Linked DNA regions of Homo sapiens: regions 2, 3 and 4 are each linked to region 1. The links are contacts of gene promoters, found by promoter capture Hi-C in blood cells and fetal thymus (Javierre and others, 2016). All regions are on one chromosome and are shown on one strand. The core of a region is centred on a gene start or on the middle of the fragment in contact, and the rest is flanking DNA. Distances in the headings are between cores, read along the strand shown. Region 1 holds the start of OSM (oncostatin M). Region 2 overlaps NF2 (NF2, moesin-ezrin-radixin like (MERLIN) tumor suppressor). Region 3 overlaps NF2 (NF2, moesin-ezrin-radixin like (MERLIN) tumor suppressor). Region 4 overlaps NF2 (NF2, moesin-ezrin-radixin like (MERLIN) tumor suppressor).

What was found. The method cuts DNA at HindIII sites, captures the fragments that hold promoters and counts their contacts. A CHiCAGO score of 5 or more calls a contact.
Region 2: a fragment that was not itself captured here is called in contact with the fragment with the promoter of OSM in region 1 in 4 of 17 cell types (erythroblasts, fetal thymus, M0 macrophages and 1 more); the score reaches 5.8 in erythroblasts.
Region 3: a fragment that was not itself captured here is called in contact with the fragment with the promoter of OSM in region 1 in 1 of 17 cell types (M0 macrophages); the score reaches 5.5 in M0 macrophages.
Region 4: a fragment that was not itself captured here is called in contact with the fragment with the promoter of OSM in region 1 in 1 of 17 cell types (erythroblasts); the score reaches 6.2 in erythroblasts.

What each region holds. Positions count from the first base shown.
Region 1 is chr22:30,265,261-30,268,713 of GRCh38, forward strand. It overlaps OSM (oncostatin M), which reads right to left and starts at 1,591. Exons shown (of 3, transcript NM_020530.6): 1 at 1,506-1,591. The coding sequence starts at 1,539. RefSeq lists enhancers at 755-834, 895-994. The HindIII fragment of the contact is 8,742 bases long and covers 1-3,453 here.
Region 2 is chr22:29,632,353-29,635,805 of GRCh38, forward strand. All of the region lies in intron 1 of NF2 (NF2, moesin-ezrin-radixin like (MERLIN) tumor suppressor), which reads left to right. Among named protein-coding and RNA genes, the nearest start is that of NF2, 30 kb to the left of the region's middle. The HindIII fragment of the contact is 1,122 bases long and covers 1,346-2,467 here.
Region 3 is chr22:29,665,123-29,668,575 of GRCh38, forward strand. NF2 (NF2, moesin-ezrin-radixin like (MERLIN) tumor suppressor) reads left to right here. Exons shown (of 16, transcript NM_000268.4): 10 at 3,211-3,324. Among named protein-coding and RNA genes, the nearest start is that of CABP7-DT, 53 kb to the right of the region's middle. The HindIII fragment of the contact is 4,563 bases long and covers 1-3,453 here.
Region 4 is chr22:29,686,266-29,689,718 of GRCh38, forward strand. The region is part of intron 15 of NF2 (NF2, moesin-ezrin-radixin like (MERLIN) tumor suppressor); the gene reads left to right. Among named protein-coding and RNA genes, the nearest start is that of CABP7-DT, 32 kb to the right of the region's middle. RefSeq lists enhancers at 1,959-2,460, 2,461-2,960, 3,180-3,453. The HindIII fragment of the contact is 1,644 bases long and covers 979-2,622 here.

The sequences.
Region 1 (3,453 bases), core at 341-2,840:
AGTGGAGGGCGGGGGCTGGGCACTGTGTGGCACGGTGTGTGCCCAGGTGTGCCCACCAAGGCCACCATCATCTCCCCAGTAAGTCACTGCCCAGGGCCTGACACAGCAAGCAGTGGGAGGGACTGAGACAGTGGCTGCGATTTACCAAGTAGGTCTTTGAGCAAAGGCTGCAGTGCCTGGCCGGATCCCAGTCCTGCCTACAGCACGGTTCTAACCTCGGGAGCTGACTCTCTGCAAGGTGGGACTGGCTCCCTGCAAGACCACTGGGCTAAAGACCGGCCACTGCCCTAGGACCTGCCTTGTCAGCTGCTCTGGCCATCCAGGTAGATGGGCCTGAGAGGGCTTCAGGGCAGGCAGCCCGGGAGCAGCTTGTGTCCTCAGCTCTGTCTAGAACCAGGAGAGGCTGCCTTTTCAACCAGAGGTGCAGCCTGGAACAGATGTGGAAGACCTTCCAGTCCATGTCCCCACTTTCCTGACAGGTAAACCAAGTCTCAGGAGAAGGTCCTACTCAGGTCACACAAGGCCAGGGCTCTCCCCTGACCTCTCTTGCCTCCCTCCTCTCTCCATAAGTGGCTCCTTCTGTCAGGCCCACCAGGGATGCTGTGAGCCTGTCAGAAGGTGTTGGGGGCGGGTACAGTTACCGCTCACCACCACCCCCAACGGGGCACCGGCAGCCACGTGGTCGGAAGGGGCCTATGGCGCAATGGCCCGGAAGGCAGTGACACCATCGTTCCCGTCCTAAGAACCATCCGGCCCTTTGGGGAAGACTGGCTGTTGGGGAGGGCCAAGGGGCCAGGCACCCAGGCTTAGCGACCCCACGGCACCCTCGCCGCCTCCCCAGGTATCTGCTGCCGGGCTCTGGCAGGGGCCTGTGCCTGTGGCAGCGCACGTGGGACTGGGGTTTCTGTGTGGCTGTGCATCTGGGTCTGTGTGCGGCGTGAGGGAGACCTGTTCCGTTCACCATGGGGACTCTGGTCTGCATGTGGGGGTTCCTGGGCTGGTGAGATCCAGGGCTGTAGATGACGTCATATGGCTGTGTGCGCATGTGGCCATGTGGGTGTGGCTGTGCATGCTGTGTGATTGTGTGGGCCCTGGGGCCCCCAGGCCTGGCTGACTTTCTATTCATCCCGGGCAAGCTGGAGGCCCCACAACCCCTCCACACCTCACACCACTTCCCTGCCCAGCTTCTGAGCCTCCCTCTCCTGCCCAGCCTCTTTGCCCATCCTATTCTCTCACCCCCTGGTTCCCAGAGTTGCCTCTACATCTTGACATCACCTCCCCCTGGAAGCCTTCCAGGGATGCCCCTTCTCTACCTGTGGAGATGCCAGGTTCTCAGTGGACCACTCTCTCTGCCTGACCTCCTGGCTCTCTCCCCTTCTCAGCATCCTTCTGCCTGGCGCCTGGCCTCCCCAGTTCCCGGAGGGCAGAGGGTGCCTCTGCTCCCCACCGGCACCCGTGGGCAGACCCAGCAGGCGGGTTCTGGCGGGGAGGAAGGAAGTACTTACTGAGCAGCGTCCTCTGTGTGAGCAGTACCCCCATGCTGGGTGCCCGTGCTCCGGCCCGCGCCCGCTGGGGGTGACACCTCTCGGCTGGGAGCCCTGCAGGCTGGCAGCCACTTTATGCCCGCTGGGGCGATTGGCCAACACCTCATGAGGTGGGTGGGGATGGGGAGGGGGGAGGGCAGGCCTTCTGGGAACATGACCCCAAAAACCAAAATTTCCACGGGCGGCCAATGGGCGCAGGGCGCGGTGTATGCCCGCTCCTCCTCCTGTTTTCTTCGAATTCGTTCTTCGAGGTCAGCCCTACGCCCAAGGATGATGTAAAACCGCAGCCTCAGCCTTCCTAGGGTGAGTGGGGAGGAAAAGGGTCCATGCCATCTTCAGGGAACTGGGCCAGGGATGGGCAGGAGGGACTTCGAGCTGGGCCTCTGGAGGCCCCAGGCCAGTCTTGGCCCAGGAGCCATTGGCCTCACAGGACACGGTGGTTGGGGGCTGAGGGGAGCGAGACATCTTCCTTCTTGAGTGCCCTTCCTGCCCTCTCGCCGGGGCTGTTGGGACATCTGTGAGCGGAAACCACCGGGCTCTGGGCACAGAGCCAGACGCAGGCTGGCAGCCCCGAGATTGTGGTTCAGGCCCCAGGACCAGCATCCCCCAGCCCGGCTCCCGACGGTCTCCTTTCCCCCATCGTGCACCCTCTGCCAGGCCCACTCCCCAAAGCCAGGCCTTGTCTTTGTAGGCAGGCTCCACTGGGGAGAACTGGACACTTGGAGCAAGAGAAACAGGAGGCCAGGGTTCAAGCCTGCTGAGGTGCTGTGTGACCTGAGGCAAGTCACTTAACCTCTCTGGGCCTCAGAGACCCACAACTATAAAATGAGGAGGAGAAAAGCCTTTCCCAGCCCACCTCACAGGGTTGCTGCCAGCATGGACATAAAAGGAAAAGACCTCTGAAGGAAAAAGCAAAGATGAAGGTCTGATTCCAAGTATTAGCTGTCGAGGGGGCGGGATGGGGGAAGGAGGAGATGGGGAAGCTGTGAGCTCAGAGGGGAAGCCGGGGAGGGGGAGTTGCCGCCTTGACAGTTGGGGACCAGGTTTCACTTTCTCTGAAAGATAGCGATCTTAGGTTGGTCCTCTGCGAAAGGGCCCTGGGAACAGCGCCTCCCTAGTCAAACTGCTACTTTACTGTGGGGTAAACTGAGGCCTGGGTGAAGGCAGACAGGGAGGCCAAGAGGCTGGCCCAGGCCTATAGACCCTGCCTGGTCAGCACATCTCCCAGGCCCAGAGGAGGGTCCTTGGCCTGCACCCTAAGAAGCCCGGGTGGGAGGAGGCCCTCAGGAGTCTGGGGAGTCAGGGTGGGACTCCTGGAGGCTGCCAGGGAGGCCTGAGCTGCTCCAGCTGGAGGGAGCATGGGGTCTGGGGCGCCTGAGCAAGGAGAGCTGGGGCAGCCAGAAAGGAGGAGGTTGGATGCACCCCTGTCCATGCCTGCTCCCGATGCCCACTGTGGCCACCAAGGCAGTTGCCACCCATTCTCCCCATCACTCATTTATTCATTCGACAAACCTTTATTTGGCTCCATGCTGCACCAGCCACTCCCAGGTCTGAGGATCACGTAGTAGGCAAAAATAGGCGACCCCACGCCCAGGAGGCTGCTCTTCAGCCCCTACCCACTCCCCGGCACCCAGGCTGGGACTCACCACACCAGGCCTCATACCTCCCCCTCACCACCCCCAGGGGCCAGTTCTGGATTCTCATCCTGAGAATGTCGCTTCCGCTGAAGTCCTCATCTCTGTGCCCACCCCCACAATGCTGTTTCCTGGGGCCATGCCAAGAGGGGATCCTTCTCCATTTCACATCCCTGATCTCGTCTTTTTTTCTCTTTTTTTAAATGCAGGATCTTGCTCTGTCACCCAGGCTGGAGTGCAGTGGCGCCATTGTAGGTAGCTCACTGTGGCCTCCA
Region 2 (3,453 bases), core at 657-3,156, 630 kb before region 1:
ACTTGGTTCCTCTTTTCTACCATGAGCCAGTTTAGATGTCATTTCCCTACCTGCCCAGGATAGGAGGTTCCCACAGCCGCTGGGTGTCCTGTTGTGGCACTCACAAGTGTTATAGTGCTGAAAGCCCACTCCTGGGGTTTTTATGTGTGCGATGAAGGAGGTGATTATCTTTTCCCAGCTAGTTCATATCCTAGTCCTCTGAGTGTAGAGACTTGTTTCTTTTTCCCCATTTGTCCCCTGCACCTTGGGCGGTGCTTGGACACAATGTGTGTGTTCACTAACTATTTGTGGAAGAGGTGGGTGAGCGGGAGTTAACTGGCTTTAAGTCTTTGAGTTTTGGGTTTTTGAAGTAGTCAAGTCCGTCCACAGTCCGTCCTGTGGACAGCCATTGTTTGCCATGTCTTGTATGTACACACTTGCCTGGGCACTGTGGGGAGCAGAAAGAGGACTAATACTGCCCTTGTGCTGAGGCACCTACAGTCTCGGGAGATGTTCAGAGGACAGTGAGTCACTTCACAGCATCAGCATGGTATAGTGGATGAGTGATGACACTGAAGATGAGCTTGGTCATATTCTGGCAAGTTGGCTGACACCTGGAAGTCCCGTCCACACCCCAAGACCTCTTTTCCCAGGGTGTCCTGAGAACCACCCAGAGCAACTGTGACCAATGGCGCTTGTTTTTAAAGAAGTAGAAACCCAAATTAGGAAGACTGAGCAAACCTCATGCATTTGGGGAAGGGCTTGTTGGAAAGTGGAACCTGATGTAGGTAGCAACATGTTGAGGTTAGATTTAACCAAACAGAAAGACTTCTTAATTGCTTAAAGACAAAATTTTATTTTATAAGTGGAATTAGGGCTTTAAATCAAATATGTTTGAACGTCTTTACTTGGTTTCCTCAGGCACCTTCACTCATCTTGTCTAAAACTTAATTGCTGGTCTATCCCTGCCAGATTTGCTGCTTCTCCTTGATTCCATCTCTCCTTTAGTGGAACCACCTGGTACTCAAGCCAGACACACAGGTGTCCCTCTTAATTCTGTCTCCTCTGGTCCTGTTCAGGCACCTGTTCTGTGACTCTGCCTCTTTTCCGTTTCTCAGGCTGCCTTCTCTCCCTTCTACTGCCTTCCTTATGTCAGGGGTTGGCCTACTTTCTGGCCTTCTTGATCCAGGGCTTCTTTTGTTCAACTCATACTCCACCCTGTTGTCAGAGCCCATCCAGATTGCAGATTGGAGCCTATGACTCGTCTGCTCAAGGGTCTTCAAAGACTTTGCAGCTTTTGGCTGAAGTTGAGCCACCTGGTCCCAAATGGAGCCCCATTCCCGCCATGCCACCTCCTGTCTGTTTAAGCTTTACAAGATGACTTGCAGTTTCCTGTAGAAAGCATGACTTTTAAAAAAAGACTTATTTCCTTCTCTCCTGCATCTAACTCTCACTTGCTCTTTAAAGCCTTCTCTGACCTAGGTCTTGCCTGTTTCTCCTGCAGAACACTGCTTCCACCATTTTGTAGCATCAGTGTCTAACATTGGTTGGCATGTAGGGTGTGCTCTATAATCCTTGTTGAAAGAATAAGTGGGAGGTAACAGAGGCTTAATTCACATTGAGCTGTAAACGAGCAATATCTGACTCTTCTGAGAATGGATTTTGTTTCAAACACTGGTTACTTACTGGAAAAGGTGTCTGGGGAGTGCTGGACAGCAAGAACAAAGGGACCCCACAGAACAGGAAAAGAGGCACTCTAGGGTCTGCGGTTTGCCTATGTTAGATCACCGTGAAAAAGGCCAGTGTATGCTTTGGCAGCTGGCAAAGAATCCTGTGACTCAGTTTCCTTATTTGCACAAAAAGGGTATGAGTCTACATTAGGTAATTACTCATGCTCATTTCCAACTCTTGACAGTCTACGATCCTTTGTGTCAAAGTTAAAAATCTAAGTAGGGCATTCTGAATTGGTGTCAGAGTTGATGCACTTCTCACTGTATTGCAAGTGCCAAGGGGACAAATACATTGTCTTTTTGCATTCAACAAAGACAGTTTTGCATTTTAAAAACAAAGTAGAAGGGAATACAGGAAAACTGCATTAATACAATTTTATGCTGGAGAATTTAAACTCCCATGTCAGGAAATTCACTCATCATTCCCTTGGCAGCTTTTGTTTCTCTGCACTGCACACCCCACTTACAGACAGCCCCTTCTTGCCAAAGCCCAGCCCAGCCATGACCATGAGTTATGGCAGATTGGGAATCGTTACCTTGATCTTCTCAACCCTTGGGTGTTTACCTTTTCCAAGTTAATGCCTGTTCTTTAATGTTACATTATCTTGTAGCAAGGTAGTCATTTATAATTTATATACTAGAGCTGCCTTAAAATAGAGACAAGAGGATAATCAGCATCCTGAAACTTCTAGTTTTCCAAAATAACATTTCTTCAGTGAAGTCTGCCTGTAGGAATTAAAACTTTTGGTGAATTAAAAAGCTTTTTGTCCTATTGTCAGACTGGGAAATGGATGTGCCCATTACTCAGCCTTAAAAACGAGGAAGGAGATCATCTGTTAAAAATAAAACTCATCATTTTCTTTTATTCTTCTCAAAATAATCCCTAAAGACCTCAATCTTTATAGTGTTCCAGTGGCCCCACTATAGTCAGAGAGGAGACAGGGCAGAAGTTGAAGGACAGATAGGAGAAACGGCCCTGCTAAAAGATAAAAGCCAGTATGCATCTCAGCTACTTGTCTGCTGTGGTCCTGATATTCTTCCATCTAGGTTGCTGCTTTGCTTGACTTTGACTGCAAACACAGAGAAGGGATGGGCTTTCCTGTTGAGTACCTTGTAGAGAACCCACTGTTCATTCATATGTGTTAAAAATGAAAAGCCTACTTGAAAACTCCCCTGTAGAATCAGGTTTTAGCAAAAACCAATCAGGTATCAGAGGTCTAACTTATTTTTCCCTTCTTGGTTTTATAGCAAGTCTCTAAACCCTAAGATTTTTTGTTTGTTTGTTTGAGATGGAGTCTTGCTTTGTCGCCAGGCTGGAGTGCAGTGGCATGATCTCGGCTCACTGCAACCTCCGCCTCCCGGTTTCGAGTGATTCCCCTGCCTCAGCCTCCCGAGTAGCTGGGACTACAGGCATGCGCTACCACACCTGGCTAATTTTTTAGTATTTTACTAGAGACAGGGTTTCACCATGTTGGCCAGGATGGTCTCGATCTCCTGACCTCATGATTCGCCTGCCTCAGCCTCCCAAAGTGCTGGGATTACAGGTGTGAACCACCACGCCCGGCTGCCTAAGAATTTTTTTCATTCCTTTTCATTATATACATCTTCAGTGTGCCAAGACTTTGAGTGGAGATTTCTAATGAGGGCAGGAAGGGACGGATGCTTCTGCAATTGAGTGGTCTCATTTTTCCCATGTCTGTCGAAAGATTACTCTTTCATGACCACCATTTCTATGATGCATCTC
Region 3 (3,453 bases), core at 954-3,453, 600 kb before region 1:
CTTCTTTTTAAAGGATATCAGAGTGACATCTTGTGAAGTATAGAATGGTATCTCACTTGGCGCATACTTTCTGTTTAGCTTAAAGAGTTAAAACTAAATTATATCATGAAGAAGTTTTTTTTTTTGTTTTTTTTTTGAGACAGAGTCTCGCTCTGTCGCCCAGGCTGGAGTGCAGTGGCAGTGCCATCTCGGCTCACTGCAACGTCCGCCTCCCAGATTCAAGAGATTCTCCTGGCTCAGCCTCCCAAGTAGCTGGGATTACAGGCATGAGACACCATGCCCAGCTAATTTTTGTATTTTCAGTAGAGACGGGGTTTCACCATATTGGTAAGGCTGGTCTCGAACTCCTGACCTCAGGTGACCCATCCGCCTGGGCTTCCCAAAGTGCTGGGATTACAGTCATGACCCACTGCGCCCAGCCGATGAGGAATTTTTAAAAAGGATTTTTAATGCAGTATTTCATACATATAAAAGGATAAGTGTAACATATGAATTATAAAGAATAACAAAAGTGAATAGCTGTGTACCCACAACCCCACTTTAAGAAATAGCACAGTCCTGGCCGGGTGCGGTGGCTTACGCCTGTAATCCCAGCACTTTGGGTGGCCGAGACGGGTGGATCACAAGGTCAGGAAAAAAAAAAAAAAAGAAAAAGAAAAAGGAAAAAAGAAATAGCACAGTCCCAATACTGTTGAGACCCTTCATGTTAACACCCTGCTGGTCTCTCCTTTCCCTCTCCCCAAGGGTGATCACTGTTTTGAGTTGAGTATTCATCATCCTCTTGCTTTTCAACAGAATTTTATTTCATATATGGCAAAAGAAAAATACCATTCAATGTCATATGTTTATGAAATTTATCTAAATGCTGTCAAGTATATATATTCTTTTGTCATTTTCCTTTTCCTTTTTCATTATTTTTTTGAGATATATCTTTGTTGATGCTTAAAGATAGTCTGTTCATTCTCACCTCTGTAGCACTCTGTTATATATTTTTCTGATTCTTCTGTTAATGGATAATTAAGTGCTTTTTACTTCTATACTTTTTTTTTTGAAATGGGGTCTCACTCTGTTGCCCAGGCACAATCTCGGCTCACTGCAACCTCCGCCTCCCGGATTTAAGCAATTCTCCTGCCTCAGCCTCCTGAGTAGCTGGGATTACAGGCGGCCACTACCACGCCCGGCTAATTTTTGTATTTTTAGTAGAGATGGTGTTTCACCATGTTGGTCAGGCTGGTCTCGAACTCCTGACCTTGTGATCTGCCCACCTTGGCCTCCCAAAGTGCTGGGATTACAGGCGTGAGCCACTGCACCCAGCCACTTCTATACTGTTTTAACAGGCTGTTATGAAAACTTTTGTATCTGCCTCCTGGTGCACATAGGCAATAGTTTCTTTGGAGTCTTGAGTATACTGGGCTAGGTGGGGTGGCTCACGCCTGTAATCTCAGCACTTGGAGAGGTCAAGGCAGGATAACTGTTTGAGGCCAGGAGTTCGAGACCAACCTGGGCAACATAGCAAGACCCTGTCTCCAAAAAAATGAAAATAAATAAAATTTTTAAATAATAAAAAAGAGGGCCAGGCACAGTGGCTCAACTCCTGTAATCCCAGCACTTTGGGAGGCTGAGGCAGGCGGATCACCTGAGGTCAGGAGTTCAAGACCAGCCTGACCAACATGGAGAAATCCTGTCTCTACTAAAAATACAAAATTAGCTGGGCGTGGTGGCGCATGCCTATAAATCCCAGCTACTTAGGAGGCTGAGGCAGGAGATCGCTTGAACCCAGGAGGTGGAGGTTGCAGTGAGCCGAGATCATGCCATTGCACTCCAGCCTGGGCAACAAGAGTAAAACTTCGTCTCCAAAAAAAAAATAAATACATAAAAATAAATCAAAAATAGAGCTTAGAGTATATACACAGGAGTAGAAGTACAGGGCTTGGTATATGTTTAAATTTCAAAATTATGACACATTGTTTTCTAAAGAAGGTGAATCGATTTTTACAGACCCAACAGTAGTGGGTGAAGTTTGTTTTTTGCTATCCTTAATACTTGTATTATCAGCCTTTTAAAATTTTTGCCAATCTTGTGCATCTAAAATGGTATCTCATTATCAAATGAACTTTTTTTTTTTGAGATTTTGAGATAGGGTCTCACTCTGTTGCCCAGGCTGAAATGTAATGACACGATCATGTCTCACTGCAGCATGGACCTGCCCAGGCTCAGTGATCCTCCCACCTCACCCTCCCCAGTAGCTGGGACTACAGACACACACCACCATGCCCAGCTAATTTTTTGTATTTTTTTTATAGAGACAAAGTTTTGCCATGTTGTCCAGGCTTGTCTTAAACTCCTGGGCTCAAGCAATCTGCCTGCCTCCCCTTCCCAAAGTGCTAGGATTACACTTCCCAAAGTGCTGAGCCACCAGGTCTGGCCAAATGTTTTGAGTTTTTTGTGGAGATGGCGTCTCACTATGTCACCCAGGCTGGTCTTGAACTCCTGGGCTCAAGGATCCTCTCACCTTGGCCTCCGAAAGTGCTGGGATTACAGGTGTGAGCTACTGCACCTAGCCTGTTTTCTTTATTGGCTATATCTTCCAGTTTGTTGCTCTTTTTCTTTTTTTATGTCTTGACAATAAGAATTTTTAATTTTAATGTAGACAAATATATACATTTTTTCCTTAATCACTTTTTGTGTCTTACTTGGCATCTTCTCTTATCCTATGATCATAAAGATATTCTTCTATATTGTCTTCTAAAAGTTTCAAGGGCTTAATCTTTGCATTTAAGTATTTAATCCTTCTGGAGTTGATTTTTGTGTAAGGTGTAAGGGAGGGATACAACTTATTTTTTTCCACATGCATAACCTGTTGCCTCAGCCCAGCTTACTGAACGAGCTTTCCTATCCTCCCTGGTCTGCAGAACCACATCTTGATGTAGGAGAGTAAGGTGCACCCAGAAGACATGGTGAAGTGTCCTCCAGTCCTCTCTTGATTTATGATTTTTACCTCCTGGCATATCTGAGGCGCCTTCATTTTGCATGTTTCCAGAGCTGACGGCACTAGAGGCCACTAGTAGGGCTTTGGTGTTTCACTCTATGCATTCATCTTCACGTTTACTGCTACCTGCAAGAGCTCAAACTGCTATGGCACTAGTGGGCCAGTAGGCAGTGAAGTAAATTTGTGGATATTAACCTTTTTGTCTGCTTCTGTGGCCACAGATTCTCCAGCTATGTATCGGGAACCATGATCTATTTATGAGGAGAAGGAAAGCCGATTCTTTGGAAGTTCAGCAGATGAAAGCCCAGGCCAGGGAGGAGAAGGCTAGAAAGCAGGTGAGCACAACCTTGTTTTAACTGATGATGTCACTGTGTGGTCAGTCCTGGCCTGGGAGGCGAGGAGTGGTCATGGGCTGGCAGGAGTCTTTTGGCCGTGGACATACCTGCTCTTGTTTTATACCTTTT
Region 4 (3,453 bases), core at 551-3,050, 580 kb before region 1:
CACATCTAGGTACACTGCTTGTGCTGGGCATATTCATTCATTGTATTAATTGCTACGTGGCTGAAAGTAAAAACTTTTAAAAAGCCATAATTGGCCGGGCACAGTGGCTCATGCCTATAATCCCAGCACGTTGGGAGGCCGAGGCAGGTGAATCACCTGAGGTCAGGAGTTCGAGACCAGCCTGACCAACATGGAGAAACCCCGTCTCTACCAAAAATACAAAATTTGCCAGGTGTGGTGGCGCATGCCTGTAAACCCAGCTACTTGGGAGGCTGAGGCAGGAGAATTGCTTGAACCTGGGAGGTGGGGGTTGCAGTGAGCCAAGATCGTGCCATTGCACTCCAGCCTGGGCAACAAGAGCAAGATTCCATCTCATAAATAAATAAATAAATAGCCATAATTAACTTCACTGTTTCCTTGTAATATTTCACTTGGGTTTGCAAGGATGTATTTTTCTCCTCTTGCTAATCTTAACTTCCTGTATTTCCATTTTTCCCAATTGATGATCAGTACAACTAGTTTGCCATTTGCATCTGAGTCAGAGCAGTGCTAGCGATCAAAAGCCGCCCTGGGGAACCTGGAATTGTTTCATTCTCAGTGGGAGCGACACGTGTCCTGGCATCTGAGCCTTCCGAGTGAGGGGAGTGAGTCTGGCCATCAGGCTGGGGTTGAGGGACACAGGGTGCCTTGAGCCTGGCTTTCGTGCCTTCAGAGCCACAGTGCCAATGATGGGAGTGGTGGCTTGGTGTGGCGTAACTGTACCACCATACCTTGATGGTAGAATGCAGTCCTGGAATATATACATTCAGGGTCTTTCTTTCATCGCTTCTCAAGAGAGGGGTTTCAGTCTCCCGATCCTGAGCTGGTCTGAGTGCCAGCAAACAAAGTCATCACTTTTGTGCCTGTGGTCTCCCAAGGAGCACAGGATTTCCAAGGAAATTGACGGATGAGAAATCATGGGGGTGGTGGAGCTTAGAAAGCTTATTTCATTAGTAAATGGTTTGAACCGTCAAGGTCCAGCTGTGGTTTCCACTGATGGAGGAACAGGAAGAAGAGGAGCCTTGACATTTATCTCAAGCGCCAGCAGCTTCTCTTGGATCAGGAAGACATAAAAGTCCAATGTCATCTTCAATTTGTGCAGGCTCCCCTTGGAGTTGCAGAGCCAGTGAAGTGAAGTAGAACAGTTAAAAAAACACCCGGGGAAGTGATAAATCACAGAGAGAGATTGCATATGCGGGAAAGGTGTCTCCCACAATTAAAACAAGTGGCCAGAGCCTCCCTGGCGACCTCTGGTCTGCATTGCCAGCCCTGAAGATGGCTCCTAAATTACTTAAGTTTAATAGGTAGTTAATATAGCCAACCCTCCTTATGACCCCAGTGGGCTGAATGGCTCTGCTTGCTTTAGGAACTGGGCGTTGTATGGTAGAGCATCTTGGCCTTGACATAAAAGGTAGCATACTGGCTCCCCAGCCCTGAACCTTCCCTGCTAGAGCAAGGCAGGGGTGAGAGGGGGAAGGAAAGAAAAAGGAGTGGGGAGTGGGGTGGGGAGCAAGGATTAACAGGGAGCAGTAGCAGCACCAGATGTGGGCATAGCACACTGGGAAGAAATTGCAGTGGCGATCTGAACTCTTCCTCTCCGCCTCCTGGCTCTGTGGAAGCCCAGGGAAGGCATTAGGAACTGCAGGCTGCTCTTAGTGCTCCTCCCGGATGGGACACCTTGGGCTCATCCCTGAAGGCCACTCCTACCACTCTCACACACTGAGTTCCTGGTGTCTCGTAACTGTTGAGAGCTTAGTTTTCTTGCTTGTTTCTGGTAGCTCTAGATAGAAGACTGTATCGGCCTCTTCTAAAAGTCAACAAGCCAATCCTGTTTTTGGTTAAGAGACTTTACCTGGTCAAGCAGTTGTTCTTTGGGAGGTGTTGAAGAGCCTACAAACCTGCCTTGCCTGCCTAGGTACTTTACCACCATTTGGAGATGCCTGAGGATATTACCAGGCCTTATTTGAGGCAGTAAAACACCCTGTTCGGCCCCTCGGCACTGAAGATGTGTTTCAGTGCAGCTCTCCTCGGCACCGGATTCGTTGCTGCAACAGTGGGAGGGAAGAGCCAGATGCAAACTCGTTCTGCGAGCCCGAGGTTCTGTTCTCATGATCCTTGCTGTGATTTCTCTTTTGATGTTGGCAATTTTAAAATGACATCAGTCTATCTGGACCTTTTTCCTAAGGCTCTTGCTCAGACCACTCAGTAGATAGCCGCCACCTGCCCAGTGAGGTGAATCAGGCCCATTAGGCCATTTGTCAGGGGAAGGAACAGAGGAGCAGCGGAGGGCCCCGCCGGCCAGTGCCACAGGGCAGCCTGCAAAGCAGGTAGACAGGTTTTCAGGCAGCTTTTGCTGCTTTGGGTCCCTCAGGGATTAATACACAAAAAGGGCCCCTTGGGTATTCAGTGGCAGATTTCTCTTGAGAGCAGATAAAGTCGCTAATAACAAATTGGATTTGTTCATTGGGGTGGACTTGGCCTTTCGTTCCACCTCTGTGTAGGATAAGTGTGTGGATAGTGCTCCCACTGTGCACATCACCATATGGCATTTGGGTGCAGCTGTCCCTAGCCAGACTGCAGAAAAGCTTGATCTGGGCCGGACGCGGTGGCTTATGCCTGTAATCCCAGCACTTTGGGAGGCCGAGGCAGGCGGATCACGAAGTCAAGAGATTGAGACCATCCTGGCCAACATGGTGAAACCCTGTCTCTACTAAAAATACAAAAATTAGCTGGGCGTGGTGGCATGCGCCTGTAGTTCCAGCTACTCAGGAGGCTGAGGCAGGAGAATCACTTAAACCCAGGAGGCAGAGGCTGCAGTGAGCGGAGATCGCGCCACTGCAGTTCAGCCTGGCAACGGAGTGAGACTCCGTCTCAAAAAAAAAAAAAAAAAAAAAAAGAGAAAGTAAAGAAAAGCTTGATCTGGCCACTTAGTACAGCCATCCCCCTTTACTGGCCCTTCCTCTTTGCTTATTTGGAAGGGGGAAGGTTTCCCACACCCCAAACCAAAGATTCTTTTGGAATTTGCTGCTGCTGGATTCAGCTGTCACCTTTCTGCTCTGAGTCTGCTTTCTCCCTGTGGATCCGGTGCCAGAGGATCTGCACGTCCTTTTGTGTCTACACCCTCCCCCGCTCCTTCGTTTTCAATATGTAGTAGTGGAGAGGAAGTGTAACATGATTTTAGGGCTCACATTTCAATTCCACTGCATTTTTATGGGACAAGCAGAGACCCAGCGCCTGGAGTTATTAGGTTAGTATCTAAAATGGGTTCAGTACTGTGAGTCTTATTGTTTAAAATGAATGAGATGGTCCCCTCCTACCTTCTTTTCTCCTCCCCTGGGATGAGTGGATTGAGGCAAGGCCCCCAGAGACTAGTTGAAGGAATCCTGGTGCTCTGATTAGTTTTGTTCCCCAGCT